Regions from separate parts of the Homo sapiens genome. Here all the other regions are linked to region 3. Evidence: promoter capture Hi-C in human tissues and cell types (Jung and others, 2019). All regions are on one chromosome and are shown on one strand. The core of a region is centred on a gene start or on the middle of the fragment in contact, and the rest is flanking DNA. Distances in the headings are between cores, read along the strand shown.

Region 1 (2,700 bases), core at 96-2,595, 220 kb after region 3:
TCAGCCTTAATCCTGCTAACTGCTAGTAAAACATACTTTAACAAATAAGATCAATGGGTATGTTTTAAGATGTGGAAGACTGAATCTCTTCTCATTTATTTTGCAAGGGGATGAAACAAAAATATTTAAGCGCACATCTAGAAGTTTTATAGTTCTCTGTTTAAAGCTACATTGGGGCTGGGCGCAGTGGCTAACACCTGTAATCCCAACACTTTGGGAGGCCAAGGTGGGTGGATCACCTGAGGTCAGGAGTTCGAGACCAGCCTGACCAACAGGGTGAAACCCCGTCTCTATTAAATACAAAAAAATTTAGCCGGGTGTGGTGATACATGCCTGTAATCCCAGCTACTTGGGAGGCAGAGGCAGGAGAATCTCTGGAGCTCGGGAGGCAGAGGTTGCAGTGAGCGGAGATTGCACCATTGTAATCCAGCCTGGGGCAACAGAGCGAAACTTCGTCTCAAAAAAAAAAAAAAGCTACACTGGGCCAGGTATGGTGGCTCACCCCTGTAATGCCAGCATTTTGAGAGGCCAAGGCTGGCAGATCACTTGAGGTCAGGAGTTCGAGACCAGCCTGGTCAACATGGTGAAACCCATACCGTCTCTACTAAAAATACAAAAATTTGTAGGCCGGGTGCAGTGGCTTACACCTGTAATCCCAGCACTTTGGGAGGCTGAGGTGGGTGGATCACCTGAGGTTGGGAGTTCAAGACCAACCTGACCAACATGAAGAAACCCCGTCTCTACTAAAACTATAAAATTAGCAGGGCGTGGTGGCGCATCCCTGTAATCCCACCTACTCGGGAGGCTGAGGCAGGAGAATCACTTGAACCCGGGAGGCGGAGGTTGTGGTGAGCGGAGATCATGCCATTGCACTCCAGCCTGGGCAACAAGAGCAAAACTCCATCTCAAAAAAAAAGAAATTAGCCAGGCATGGTGGCGGGTGCCTGTAATCCCAGCTATTTGGGAGGCTGAGGCAGGAGAATCACTTGAACCCGGGAGGTGGAGGTTGTAGTGAGCCAAGATCGTGCAATTGCACTCCAGCCTGGGCAACAAGAGTGAAACTCCGTCTAAAAAAAAAGAAATTATCCAGGCATGGTGGCGGGCGCCTGTAATCCCAGCTACTTGGGAGGCTGAGGCAGGAGAATCGCTTGAACCTGGGTGGCAGAGGTTGCAGTAAGTCAAGATCGTGCCATTGCACTCTGGGCTGGGCAACATTGCGAGACTCTGTATCAAACAAACAAACAAATAAATAAGCAAGCTAGCTACATTGCTTTTAAATTTAGCAAAGGCTATATGCACAATATTCCCCTGCCTGCAGTAAGAAAGTAACTCTTTATTGGGACCTTAATATGATTCCCAACATCAGTAAATAACCTGCTAATCTAAGCACACACTAGCTGATATTTTTCCAAAAATGTCATTTCTGCACTCACCAGGCGTGTCCCATTTTAAGCCTGTTTGTTTTCTCTTTTTCCTGGTAAACAGATAGAAATGGCCCTATGGTAAACTCTGTCTGTTCTCTTGGTTATCTCCCTGATTAAGTTTCTCCCTGGTATTTTAAACATGTTCAGAGAGATTCATTTTCAACAAGATCAGCCAGCCTCTCACAGTATCACTTTGAAAACATCTGGTCTCATTGGGGCTGGGGAGCCAGGCGCTGCTCTGGCAGCAGTGCTGTTCTGTTGCTGAGGGAGTTCTGTCTGAGGCCATCACAGTTCGGTCGCTGGCCTGTGGCTAAATTATCTCCTTAATGAGGGGGCCTGTCAATCCAAGAACAACATTTCTCTCTTGTTCCCTCTCTCCTTCCAATGTTTTATTCCCTTAGTGAACTCATAGAGTGTAGTGGGAGGAAGGTCTAGGTCTTCCGCGTATTAGAGAAAACACACACACACACACACACACACACACACGTTCATTTATTCAAACCAACATACATGGAGCAACTGCACGGGAGGTACAAAGGTGAATACAGTGTGGTCCCTGTTCTTAGTGAGCTCATAGTCCAGTAAGGGACATAGACGGGAATACACATGGTATATCGAATTGTAATTGTTTGTCATCACAAAGTTTTATAATTCATAGGAAAGGAGCACTGAGGAGATGTCACTGATTGTATGAGTTGTGTGTGTGGGTGGGGGTGGGAACGTGTGGTCAGAGAAGCCAGGGATGAATGAGAAGAGGATGGGGACCCCAGGCCTATTGATACAGGTAATTCCAAGTAGTTAAATTTGCTGGAGTGTAAGGAGCAAGGTGAGGAGATTAGGCTGGTGAGTTGGGCAAGACCTTAGAACCGTGATTGTCATCTAAAAAATATAAAATGAGAATGCTAGACTGTCCCATGTAATAACCTTATCTAATAGAACATTATTATACTTATATATGTAACCATATATATAATATATATTTCTATTATAGTAGAAGGAATATTGTCCAGTAGATGCAAAATCTTCATAGACTTAAAGCCGGTTGCTGGCCAGGCATGGTGTCTCATGCCTATAATCTCAGCATTTTGGGAGGCTGAGCAGGGAGGATTGCTTGAGCCCAGGGGTTTGAGAACAGCCTGGACAACATAGCAAGACCCCATCTCTACAAAAAAATAAAAAATAAAAAAATTAGCCAGGCATGGTGGCATGCGATTGTAGTCTCAGCTACTCAGGAGGCTGAGTCAGGAGGATTGATTTATTTAACCCCATTAGGTCG
Region 2 (2,700 bases), core at 44-2,543, 240 kb after region 3:
CCAGAGATCAAACACCGCCAGCAGTGAATGTAAAACAGCCCTGGCCCGCTCTGGGGCCCACATGCAGAGGGACGAAAGGGAGCTCCCATCCAACTTCTTCCACTCCACCCCAAAAACATTCTCTGCAAATATTCTTGGGAGGTTCGGTGTTACTACAGTTATTAAAAATGCTGAGGTAGGATGTTCCCACATCCTAGGTATGGATGACAGTCTCCCTCATTCAGTGGAATCTTATCCTTCAGGTCTATGAAAATGTGGCCATTTATAAAGAGTAAAACCTTATGAAAACACATGTCCGTATAAAAGTCTATATGCATGTTTATAGTGACATTATTCGTAATTGACAAAAACAAAAACTGGAGACAACCCCAAAGTCCTTCAACTGGAAAAAAGTAGTACACCCATATAATGGCATATTATTTAACCTTAAAGAGGAATGGACTTTTATTTACTTATTTTTTTAAGAAACAGGGTCTCATTCTGTTGCCCAGGCTGGAGTTCAGTGGTGCAATCATAGCTCACTGTAACCTCAAACTTCTGGTCTCGGGTGATCCTCCCACCTCACTGAGTAGCTAGGACTCCAGGCACTCACTACCACACCCAGCTAACTTGTTTATTTTTTGTAGAGATGGGGTCTCCCTGTGTGCTTGGGCTGGTCTCGAACTCTGGCCTTCCTCCTGCCTTGGCCTCCCAAAGTGCTGGGATTACATGTGTGAGCCACTGCTTCCAGCCTAGGAGTGGACTGTTGATATACGCAGAAACACACATTGTGTTAGTCTGTTTTCGTGCTGCTGATAAAGACATACCCGAGACTGGGCAATTTACAAAAGAAAAAGGTTTATTGAACTTACAGTTCCATATGGCTGGGGAGGCCTCACAATCATGGTGGAAGGTGAAAGGCACATCTCACATGGCAGCAGACAAGAGAAGAGAGCTTGTGCAGGGAAACTCCGTTTTTTTTTTGTTGTTGTTGTTGTTGTTGTTGTTTTGAGACAGAGTCTCACTGTGTTGCCCTGGCTGGAGTGCAGTGGCATGATCTTGACTCATTGCAACCTCCACTTCCTCGGTTCAAGCAATTCTCCTCCCTCAGCTTCCCAAGTAGCTGGGATTATAGGCCTGGGCCACCATGCCCAGCTAATTTTTTTTGTATTTTTAGTAGAGGTGGGGTTTTGCCACGTTGGCCAGCCTGGTCTCGCACTCCTGACCTCAAATGATCCACCCACCTCGACCTCCCAAAGTGCTGGGATTATAGGCATGAGCCACTGCGCCCAGCCAAAACTCCCCATTTTAAACATCAGATCTCATGAGACTTATTCACTATCATGAGAACAGCATGGGAAAGACCTGCCCCCATGATTCAATTACCTCCCACCAGGTCCCTCCCACAACACATGGGAATTCAAGATGAGATTTGGGTGGGGACACAGCCAAACCATATCATGGGTGAATCTTGAATACATTACGTTGAGTGAAAGTAGACAGTCTCAAAGGCTACGTACTCTAAAATTACATTTGTATGATATTCTGGAAAAGGCAAAACTTATAGTGACAGAAAACAAATAAATGGTTGAAAAGAGGTTGGAGAAGAGATGAAGTACACCAAGGAGCTTCCAGGGATGATAGAAATAGAAATATCGTGATTGTAGTGGTAGTTACCCAACTGGGGTTGGCTGTCAGTGCTCATGGAATTGTACTGAAAAGGGTGACTTTTGCTGAATGCAAATTATACCCAATAAGCCTGACCTTAAAAAGCAAGCTAGGCTGGGTGTGGTGGCTCACGCCCTTTGGGAGGCCGAGGCAGGCGGATCACAAGGTCAGGAGTTCGAGACCAGCTTGGCCAACATGGTGAAGCCCCTGACTACTAACTAAAAAAATACAAAAATTACCCGGGCATGGTGGCATGCGCCTGTAATCCCAGCTACTCGGGAGGCGGAGGCAGGAGAATTGCTTGAACCTGAGAGGTGGAGGTTGCAGTGAGCAAAGATTGCGCCACTGCACTCCAGACTGGGCGATAGAGCCAGAGTGTATCAAAACAGACAAAAAAAGGCAAGTTAAAGCCTTGTATTTCAGTCCTTAAGTGCTGCCACCTCAGTAGGAGAAATTTTCCATTTTGAGATGGGCCACACCAGGGAGGCCAGACCCTTGATGAGATGGAAAAAGTGCCGAGCTTGAAGATTTTTGACTGCAGTGGCTCATTCAACAGATATTTTTTAGTATATACCATGTGTTTGTAATTGTTCAGTCAGGTCAGACCAGGTGGGAAGAAAGTGTTACCAGGAGCCTAACCTGAGATAGTCGCAGTGGGAATGGAAAGTTAGGCCACATGGTGAAGGGCTTTTAGAGATAGAATTAAGACCCAGTTATTAGGGAAGCTGAGAGATTCTAACAGGATGTAAATGGTGCAGGTGAGGGAGAGAAGCTAGGGGCAGTTCCTGGGACCACACCAGTACCTAGCATTGTGCCAGAAGCCAGTAAATAGGGAGGAAAGGAGATGTCCATTTGGAAACCTTGTTACCACAGTGACGTTAATCTTCGAGCATTTGTGGATATCTTTAGACCAAGGGGTCAGCAAACTATAGCCTAAGACCAAATCTAGCCCACCACCTATTTTTATATGACCACTAAGCTAAAAGTGGATTTTATATTTTAATATGGCTTTTTTTTTATGTGGAGTTTCGCTCTTGTTGCCCAGGCTGGAGT
Region 3 (2,700 bases), core at 176-2,675:
TGATTTTTCCATCTCACTGCTATGCCATCTCTAAAGCATGCCTTCATCCTTATGGCACAAACTTGCCGCCTGAAAACCAGCGAACCCAACTTTCCAGGAAGTAAAATGCACTTTAAAAGATCAGGAGGGCTGGGCGAGGTCGTTTAGGCCTATAATCCCAGCACTGTAATCCCAGCACTTTGAGAGGCCGAGGCGGGTGAATCACCTGAAGGCAGGAGTTCAAGACCAGCCTGCCCAACATGGTGAAACCCCGTCTCTACTAAAAATACAAAAAAAAAATTAGCCAGGAATGGTGGCGGGCGCCTGTAATCTCAGCTACTCAGGAGGCTGAAGCAGGAGAATCGCTTGAACCCGGGAGGCGGAGGTTGCAGTGACCCAAGATTGCGCCATTGCACTCCACCCTGGGCGACAGAGCAAGACTCCGTCTCCAAAAAAAAAAGTCAGGGACGGCCTCCTCTCTTTTAGATGCCGTCCCTAAAGACATGCACACAATTTATACCTAATTGGCTAAAACGTAGTCACATAGCCACATTTGGCTGCAAGAGAGACTATAAAATAAGCTATTTTAAGCTGGGAAGCAGTGTGTCCATCGACACAGTGTTCTGTGACTTTAAATAAAAAATTGGTTTTCTGTCATGAAGTAGAGACTAGGTTTGGTGAGGCACTCATTCATCCTTTCTCACCTCCAACAATAATTTGCGTTTACTTATTTTTTCAACCCCTTCCCATCCCCTCAAACATAGTTCTCTACCTTTTATCTCAAAAGATAACCAAAGAAACCTCTTGATTCTGGTCATACTCTTCCTTTCACTGTGACAATAACAACAACAACAACAACAACAAAACCTTATTCTTCTCCTTTACAATTTCTTTAACGTTTTTTTCTTTTCTGCTATTCCCAATCCCTAAACACCATCTCACGTTTAGATTATACAGCTTTCCACTTCGTCTCCCAGTTCCTGCGAGCACCTTATATCCCTTTTACCCCAACCAAGTCCTTAAATTTTATTTATAGTTAGCGTCACAATACACGAGTAAATATTGTCTTTCTTTAAAAAGCACAAATATCTCAAACTTCTCCCTTGGACATACCAATGGCTACATTAAGCTCTTTAGAACGTAGAAATGAAAGAACGCCTCCCGGGTTCAAACGATTCTACTAAACAAATGAAAGAACGAATGGCATGTAAGTGCGTTTTTACAATTCATGTGAACGGGTACGCTAAGACCCTCTGTCACTGCGGGCTTCGCCGCCCCGATGAAGGTCTTTCCCAGCAAAAATCTGGCTTGCCTTCTACAGCTCTGAAATGCACACTTAAACCCAGGCCCTTTGTCTCTGACCGCCCTGGCCTGAACTGGCTGGGCGGAGATTCTCGCGAATTCTCGGATCTGCGCGGAAAACGCGCTCGAGGCAGTTCTCTGACGCATTTCCGGAGCGCCAGGGAAGAGGGAAGTCGTGGTGGTCGCGAGGGAGCCGGAAAGATGGTGGTTACCAGATCTGCACGGGCTAAGGCCAGCATCCAAGCCGCGTCGGCTGAAAGTTCCGGGCAAAAGGTAGGAAATCCAGTCTTCCCTACTTCTCGCCGCTTCGCAGAGCCGCGCTCAGGCAGGCGGGGCGGCGCAAGGGTCCGGTTAAGGGTGAGGACCTGCCGACAGAGAGGACCCGAGCTTGCCGCGCGCTTGGGTCTCCCAGGCCCCGTGCTAAGCCTGTCACGGAAACTGTTTAGCCTTCACCACTGTCTCTTAAGGCAATTTTTAGTATGGAAGAGAGGTTAGATAACTTTATTTGGGTCGTTCAACTCCTTAATGCAGAAGCACAGTTCGAACTTTTAAACCTTACTGTTAACACGGTACCAAGGAGGGTTAATTTCGGCCACCATGCACAAGCCCCATTTAGGGGGGCTGGAAAAAAAGCTTCGTTTTCACGTGGGGAGGCTGGCAGCTGTCCAGCATCACCTCCTTAAGGCGTGAGGAGGGCTGTGGTGTCGTCGCCTGGTGACTCTTAGTGGCGTTAGTCGGCTGTCTCATTCTGACTCAGCGATGCAGGGAACGGAGCGGCGGCGATTTTTTCCTGTACGTAAAGGTAAGGGCGGCGACTGATTCCATCAGTGTGTTCCTAAACACATCGGTGTTCAGAGTTAATATTCCCTTTCTCCCCTCTTCTATAGGTGGGTCAGAATGTTGGTCTACCCATTATATTTGACTTTAAACAGAAAAATTTTAATCGTTCTGCTTCTGAAGTTACATCTAGGAAGGATGAGGCTAGTGAAGTAAATGCAGGGTTGGCTCCAGTGTTTAAATTTTGATTTTTTTGTTTGTTTGTTTTTGATTCGGAGTCTTGCTCTGTCGCCCAGGCTAGAGTGCAGTGGCGCAGCCTCGGCTCACTGCAACTTCTGCCTCCCGGATTCCAACAATTCTTCTGCCTCAGGCTCCTGAGTAGTTGGGATTACAGGTGCGCACCAACACGCCCCGCTAATTTTTTTACTTTGAGTAGAGATGGGGTTTCACTATGTTGGCCAAGCTGTCTCGAACTCCTGACCTCGTGATCCACCTGCCTCGGCCTCCCAGAGTGCTGGGATTACAGCCGTAAGCCACCGCGCCCGGCCAAATTTTGATTTTTTAAAAATCATGAGTTGGGCAGGTTTTTTTGTTTTTTGTTTTAAAGGTAATCTTGTTTACTGGGTTTTAGCTTTTGGGGTC

The links. The method cuts DNA at HindIII sites, captures the fragments that hold promoters and counts their contacts. A contact is called where the count stands out against the background at its distance.
Region 1: a contact is called between a fragment that was not itself captured here and the fragment with the promoter of DNTTIP2 in region 3, in 1 of the 25 tissues and cell types used here (hippocampus).
Region 2: a contact is called between a fragment that was not itself captured here and the fragment with the promoter of DNTTIP2 in region 3, in 1 of the 25 tissues and cell types used here (heart right ventricle).

Annotation. Positions count from the first base shown.
Region 1 is chr1:93,659,264-93,661,963 of GRCh38, reverse strand. All of the region lies in intron 2 of BCAR3 (BCAR3 adaptor protein, NSP family member), which reads left to right. Among named protein-coding and RNA genes, the nearest start is that of BCAR3, 21 kb to the left of the region's middle. RefSeq lists an enhancer at 1-79. The HindIII fragment of the contact is 4,330 bases long and covers 1-2,700 here.
Region 2 is chr1:93,632,984-93,635,683 of GRCh38, reverse strand. All of the region lies in intron 3 of BCAR3 (BCAR3 adaptor protein, NSP family member), which reads left to right. Among named protein-coding and RNA genes, the nearest start is that of BCAR3-AS1, 42 kb to the right of the region's middle. The HindIII fragment of the contact is 5,755 bases long and covers 1-2,700 here.
Region 3 is chr1:93,877,931-93,880,630 of GRCh38, reverse strand. DNTTIP2 (deoxynucleotidyltransferase terminal interacting protein 2) reads left to right here and starts at 1,425. Exons shown (of 7, transcript NM_014597.5): 1 at 1,425-1,554. The coding sequence starts at 1,483. RefSeq lists enhancers at 603-1,418, 1,270-1,699. The HindIII fragment of the contact is 10,129 bases long and covers 1-2,700 here.